2 separate regions of the Homo sapiens genome follow, and region 2 is linked to region 1. Evidence: promoter capture Hi-C in 16 types of primary human blood cells and fetal thymus (Javierre and others, 2016). All regions are on one chromosome and are shown on one strand. The core of a region is centred on a gene start or on the middle of the fragment in contact, and the rest is flanking DNA. Distances in the headings are between cores, read along the strand shown. Region 1 overlaps SMARCAL1 (SNF2 related chromatin remodeling annealing helicase 1). Region 2 holds the start of PECR (peroxisomal trans-2-enoyl-CoA reductase).

The links. The method cuts DNA at HindIII sites, captures the fragments that hold promoters and counts their contacts. A CHiCAGO score of 5 or more calls a contact.
Region 2: a contact is called between the fragment with the promoter of PECR here and a fragment that was not itself captured in region 1, in 1 of 17 cell types (activated CD4 T cells). The highest score is 5.2, in activated CD4 T cells.

What each region holds. Positions count from the first base shown.
Region 1 is chr2:216,477,162-216,480,385 of GRCh38, reverse strand. SMARCAL1 (SNF2 related chromatin remodeling annealing helicase 1) reads right to left here. Exons shown (of 18, transcript NM_014140.4): 16 at 3,177-3,224; 17 at 2,087-2,183. Among named protein-coding and RNA genes, the nearest start is that of RPL37A-DT, 20 kb to the left of the region's middle. The HindIII fragment of the contact is 1,336 bases long and covers 1,307-2,642 here.
Region 2 is chr2:216,080,122-216,083,739 of GRCh38, reverse strand. It overlaps PECR (peroxisomal trans-2-enoyl-CoA reductase), which reads left to right and starts at 1,931. Exons shown (of 8, transcript NM_018441.6): 1 at 1,931-2,122. The coding sequence starts at 1,999. It overlaps TMEM169 (transmembrane protein 169), which reads right to left and starts at 1,821. Exons shown (of 3, transcript NM_001142311.2): 1 at 1,761-1,821. RefSeq lists a silencer at 1,720-1,979 and enhancers at 2,170-2,219, 2,250-2,329. The HindIII fragment of the contact is 11,582 bases long and covers 1-3,618 here.

The DNA.
Region 1 (3,224 bases), core at 725-3,224:
ATTGGAAGCGAGTTCCAAGATCAGATTAATATTTCATTTCCCCTCTCAGAAGGAAGGCTATCTCAGTGAGATATAACCTCTTCTGCTTTTGTCTCCTATATTGGAAGCAACATTTTCTTTTTCTAGTAGTTGATAAAATTTTCAGCCCCATCTTAATTAAAAAATAAATTGATATAGTTATTGATCAAAATATTGATAAAACTCATTTATATTACCTTGTACTTATATTTTAGGTAGAAATGCTTAACCAATTTAGAGTAAGAGAAAGGCAAGGAGGAATAAATGAGTTCAAGTGAGAATCCTTTAAAAATAGGCTTTCTTTTTTTTCTTTTTTGAGACAAGGTCTGTCTCTGTTGCCTAGGCTGAAATGCAGTGGTGTGATCTTGGCCCACTGCAACCTCTGCCTCCCAGGTTCAGGGAATCCTCCTGCCTCAGTCTCCTGAGTAGCTGGGAATACAGGCATGTGCCATCATGCCTGGCTAATTTTTGTATTTTTTGTAGAGATGGGGGTTTCACCATGTTGCCCAGGCTGGTCTCAAACTCCTGGGCTCAAGTCATCTGTCCGCCTCAGTGTGGGATTAGAGGCTTGAGCCACTATGCCTGCTCAGACTATTTCTTTTCAAAAGGCTTGTAATAACCTAGGCTCTGTTACCATTTACCATTCAGCTGAACTGGAGAGTTCTTTAAAAAGCTTAAAAATAAGGTTGTTTTAAAATTGGCTTATTAACTATATATGTCTGAAAGGATAATTTGCAGTCTGCATTTAAAAATATGATCTGAGTCTTATTTATCCCAATATTTAGCAAATAAATCCTTGCAAAGAAAGAATTTATTTGCTAAATAAATGTAAGTGAATGAGCAGATCCACAGAGTCTTAAGTCTTGGTGTCAACGATAAGATTTAACTCAACTTCTTATTTATTTAAACTTTTTTCTTTCTCTTTTTTTTTTTTTGAGGCAGGCTCTTGCTCTGTTGCCCAGTTTAGAGTACAGTGACCATCATGGCTAACTACAGCCTTGACCTCCTAGGCTCAAGTGATCCTCACCTTTTCCTCTGGAGTAGCTGGGACTACAGGTGTGCACCACCATGTGTGGCCTAACTCAATATTCTGATGGTGATTTCACAGGAAGGAGGAGGTGCTTCACTTTCCTGATAAGCTACCGTAAGGCCCCTTTCTGCATGAGGCTCAGACCTGGTTCAAACTCTCCTGGCAGAAACAATTCAACCATGAGCTGTGCTCGAGGAGGGCATACTCCTGGTTTTCACCTTCTGGCCAACAATCCAAGCTGGGGAAGGAAAACAAGCTTTTGGAAGGCTCTGGGTCTCTTGCTCACTCCACTGTGTTTCACTGAAATGGGGGAGGAAGAGTCTGTGGCAGCCACTGGGCTGCAGCACTGAAACCAGGCAGGCATGATGGGCCCAGGGCTGTCCTGTTCAGAGGCAACAGCCTTCCCCCTCAGCACCTTTGACAAGGCCTGCCTGGTCATGGAGGGATGCCTCTTATACTCCTTTACAACAAGGGCTGAGCTCAAAGGAGGAATGCTGGGCCAAGTCAGGAAGCCTTCTTCCTTGGGCTGGCTTCACATGCCCTGTGACTTTGTGCAAACCTACTATACTGCCATGTCTCAGTTTACCCCTCTATCAAGTGGGGAGACACTGAGAATAAATAAAATGACAGAAGGGAAAATATATTCTATGAAGCCAGTACCCTATTTTAAACACTCCCCATTCTGTGCTGGGGATGCATTCCTGTGGCAGCCCTATGTGTGGTGTTGCTGTGTACTTTTTGAAACAATTCAACATTTGCCATGGGGAGTTTTGTCAGTTTCTAATGGCCTGCTGGAAGAGGCAGCATTCAGAGCCTGTGCGGGAATGTCAGCAGCTGTAGGAGCTAATGCCATCATTTCCCCATAAAGCGATGCATGCATGGTTCAACTGAGAATGACTGCAGGCCATTGTTTTCAGCTCTAGGCTGGGGGAGGTCCCTAGGAGTGATTCACATCCTCCTACTCAGGACCCAAAGACTTGGCAGACAGCTTAATGCCTCCCTCTGCTCCAGGGGTGAAGAGCCATGTGCTGGCATTACCTTGTAGAGGTAATCAGTGGATTCTGTCATTTCTGAAAAATTGGTCTCAGAAAGCCCGGCTTCTGCCAGAACTTTAATCTTCTCTTGAATCAGGGGCCTGTTGGGGAGAAATGAGCTGCAGTGAATACAACCTGCACAGAACCACCAGACTAATGAAAATGAGGCCACCCTCCTTGTTCTTATGGGACAACGGCTTGTTTACGGTTTCACATCTCTGCATCTCTCAAGGTGCAAACACCCATCTTGAAAAATTTGCCCCCTCTCATTTGTAAAAACTCCAATTTAGGGCTAAGAATATCATCAGGTTCAATATTCTTTCTAATGGAAGATGTGTAGGAAATAAATGCTGCCTCATTTCAACACAATTTTGAATCTGGTGGTATTATGAGCTGCCCAATTAACAAATCCACTAAAAAGGGGGAAGTAGGAGTGACCCACACACATTGCAAAGGGAAGACTCCTTAGTCATAAGGCTGGAAACAGAGACAAGCAGTGGAAACAAATGAGATAATCAAGAAATTTTGTATCAGGAAGGGGGAGATAAGGGGAAGAAGCTTTTTGAGATTTTTCACTTAGGTAACAGACAGAAAACCCTAGGGTTGAAAATCTTACTCCAGCTCTGCTAACGAAGTACACTACACAGTCCAGGGTAAGCCACTTTCTCCCTGTGGTCCAGCAGCAGCAATGTAAGATGTGCCCACCAGATAAATGCACATCATAAAAGGTAAAAGACTGTCACCCTGTCCTAACAAATGCCTTCACAGCTGGGAACAGGGTGTTTTACAAACTAAATTCCATCTATATTTTGTCATAATCAGCACTTCTCCCTGCCTCAGACCAGCAGCAAAAGGAGCCACAACCCCTTATTGCTATAAGATTCAGCATGCACCCTGCAAGCCACCAGTGAACGCTAGTGAGGGAGGCCAAATATGGTCATGATGAAAGCAGGAGGGCATCACTAGTCAATTTTCTATAGATCCTTAAAGACCTTACTTAGCAAAAGCAGAAGCACTTTGGGAGCAAAGTAAACATATCATCAGTTTCCACCCTTGCTCGACTCCAACTGCCAGGCCACCCAACCAAGCCATACCAAAGGTAGTCATCAGCTGTGCCCTTTGCCACGAGGTAGTGAATGCCC
Region 2 (3,618 bases), core at 682-3,181, 400 kb after region 1:
TGAAAAATCGCCTTCTGACTGTTCATCCTGCAACTTCCTTGCAGCTGAGGAATGGCACCTTGTCATCCTCAGTAGGCATAACCGGTTTGCAGGCCCCAGTCCCTGTTTCACTGGAAGACATCAGAATCCCACTCTCAGTCCGCTCAGCAGCCACACGGAAGCTGCAGCACAGCCAGCTTCCCACTGACCCACCCTGGCACACCTCTAAGAATCTATAGGTCCAGACCAGGGCATAAATCATGTTAAGTTATATCTTCAATAAAGTTATCATTTAAAAGAATTTAAAGTGTCCCCACCCACAAGAAAGAAAGTCTGGACTTCTCTTGAATAAGATACCCCTCAGAACTGAATCAATATTTCTTTTCCTTAAAAAAAAACACCTTGTCATTGGGATCAAACCAAGAGGAGTTATATGTTTCTGCAACAACACTTTGAGCTTTCCTGTTTGAATTTACTTTGTTTTAAAGGAGGTGATGGCGTTGTAATTTTAAAAATTTGGTCCTAACTACAGAATTGACTTAAGTAGTAGAGTTAAGTGATTCCTGGATAAACTATCTAGCAAATGGTAACCAGGAGATTTATTCCTTTCTTTAACGAGTGTAGATTTGAATCTGTCAGCAACAAAGATAGAGGGAGAAGTGATTCTAAAAAGAGATCAGAGAAGGACAAGAGGATGGAGCAACAGGGAAGTGTAGCTGTCCAACAAGAACTGCAGCCTCGCTGGTGGGTGGGACCTGGTGGAGGAAGTGATGGTCTGATTCCTCTGTCAACCAGACCCATTTCCAATTGGCTTTGTGAATCCTAGGTGGTAGGTCCAACAAAAGGATGATGGCATTTATTTGCCTTTATATTATTTTAATACCTGTCCGGGGAAAATGCAACACTCTGACAACAGCCTTAGAAATAGCATCCCATCTGGATTGTTAAGACCACAGCAACTGGCACATTCGACCAAGTTCTTAGGGTGAAGTCTCAGTAGGCCAGTCCAGGTGTAATCTCACTCTGGTGGGTTCAGAGCGGGAAGCAAGATGAAAAATAAGGAGCAGATCTGAATAATAAATCACTGTTACTGGGCACCATAACACAGACGAGAAATTTTCCCCATCCTCAGCGGGCTCACCCTCCTGCACAAGGAATGAACTACAGGACATGATCTCAAACACCTACAGATGCATCTTGCAGGAAGCGTGCACCCTTCAAGGAAAGATCCTCTTCTGGACTCGCTATGCAGCTCAGCTGAAATGGATCAGGTCTCAAACCTGGTAAAGATGATCTTTCCCCTTGATTCTTGGGTGGGGAGTGGGAGGTGAGACGGAGGTGGGCCTGAGTTTATTTTTTCAAATCGTTTATTCTCTTGGTTCTGTGGAAAACTGCAACCGCATCTCCTCTTCCCCTTCACTCTCTTTCCCGGGCTCCCTCCCGAAGGATGAAAGGATCTGAAAGCCGCATTTCTCCCCCTCAGCTAAGCCTGCCCTTTCTCCCCTTCCCAGCCAGCGGCACACAGCACCTGGAGCCACAGCATCGCCGACGTCCGACCCCGGCAGGCGGGCGCAGCGAGGGCGCCGAGCAGCAGCCTTTCTTTTTCCAGCTGCACTGGAGATTTAATTTTAATTAATCGTGAGAGCTTCAGCCCTGAGGATTGAATTTTTGAAATAGAGCACACCCTGCTTGTTTCTTTCTTCTTCTTTTTTTTTTTTTGCATTTCCCTTCCACCCTCCCCAATGGCATCGAAATTTAAAGAAACGAACGAGCAGTCTCACCCACACCTGCCCAGGGACCGACGCTGGCGGAGGTTGCGGACAGCCGGCGGGGAGCGGTTCTGCTCCGGGAGGATGCGGCTTTGCCGCGGCCGGCGGGCGGGGCGGGGCCGGGCCGGGGAGGGTGCGGGGTTCTGGTGGTCACGTGGGCTCGAGCACCGCCCTGTCCGCCCGCCCGCCTCGAATGTCCCTGAGACCCAGAAGGGCCTGCGCTCAGCTGCTCTGGCACCCCGCTGCAGGGATGGCCTCCTGGGCTAAGGGCAGGAGCTACCTGGCGCCTGGTTTGCTGCAGGGCCAAGTGGCCATCGTCACCGGCGGGGCCACGGGCATCGGAAAAGCCATCGTGAAGGAGCTCCTGGAGCTGGGTACGTGAGCGGGCCGCTGGTGCAGAGAGGTGGCTGTGGTGACCTGGGGTAACCTGGAGACGGGAGCCAGGAGCTCTCGGCGGGGCTGAGGGAGTGTGGAGCTGCAGAGCAAAGACGGGGCAGGTGTGGGCGAAATTACGACCACCAGGGAGACAGAAGAGAGCAGCTCTTCCTAAGGAATTGTGGAGCCACTCGTTAAAAACTGAAGAGACCACTCAGGCCAAAGAGACTGTGCCCCAGGTAGGCAGTAAGAAGAGCAGTGAAACATGCTGTGCAATTAGTTTTATATTCAGATTTAAAATTAATCCATTCTATATGCTTAATGTGAGTGATTAGGAAACGTGGGAAGACTTCATTTAACTGGAAAAAGTTGTGAACATAGTGAGTCTCTCATAGTATCTTCTCACATCTCTTAACCACAGCAAGGAAATATGCTGAATATTTACCTTAACTTGGGTGAAGGAAGGCCTTTGTAAACACATAAGTGAGGGAATAAACCACAAAGGAGAACATAAATCAATCTACCTGTATGAAAGTGTAAATCCTCATTGAATTAAAAAAATATATAAAGTTTAAAGGCATATGAAGAAAAATATTTGCAACATAAGATAAATTGTTTGTTGGTTTTGAGATAGGGTCTCACTCTGTTGCCTACGCTGGTCTCGAACACCTGGGTTCAAGGGATCCTCCTGCCTTGCCTCTGAGTCCTAAAGTTTTGGGATTACAGGCTGAGCCACTAGATTCGGCCAACAGCCTTATACATAAAGAGCTCTTACAAATAAAGAAAAAATCCAACACACTGATAGAAAAATTAGACTAATGGTATGGACTAAGCGTTCCAAAAGAAGAACTACAGACAGGCAAGAAACATATGAAAAAATAATCAACTTTATTGGTAATAAAATATGAAACAGTAAGATTTAACTTTTCTAACAAAATTTTGAAATGTTGGGAAAAATTAAAGTGTTGATGCAGGAATGAGAAGGCAGGAATGTAAATTATTACAAACTTTCTGGAAGGCAATTTGGAAAAAAAGATCCAAAAACCTTCACAATGTTTATGCTCTATGACAGTAATTCCTTTTTCAGGAATTTAAGGAAACGGAGTCAAGCAAAGATTTTCATGCAAGGATGTAGTCTTGAGTAGTGAAAAAATGGAAATTACCTAAAAATCCAATATAAGGAAAATAGTTAAATCAATAACAATGAAATATAATGCTTCCGTTTAAATATCTTGCTATTGGTCCTGGCGCAGTGGCTCACGCCTGTAATTCCAGCACTTTGAGAGGCCGAGGCGGGCAGATAACCTGAGGTCAGGAGTTTGAGACCAGCCTGGCCAACATGGTGAAACTCCATTTCTACTAAAAATACAAACCAGGCATGGTGGCGTACACCTGTAGTCCCAGCTACTTGGGAGGTTGAGGCGCAAGAATCGCTTGAACCTGGGAGGCAGAGGTTGCAATGAGCTGACGTCAAGCCACTGCACTCCAGCCTGGG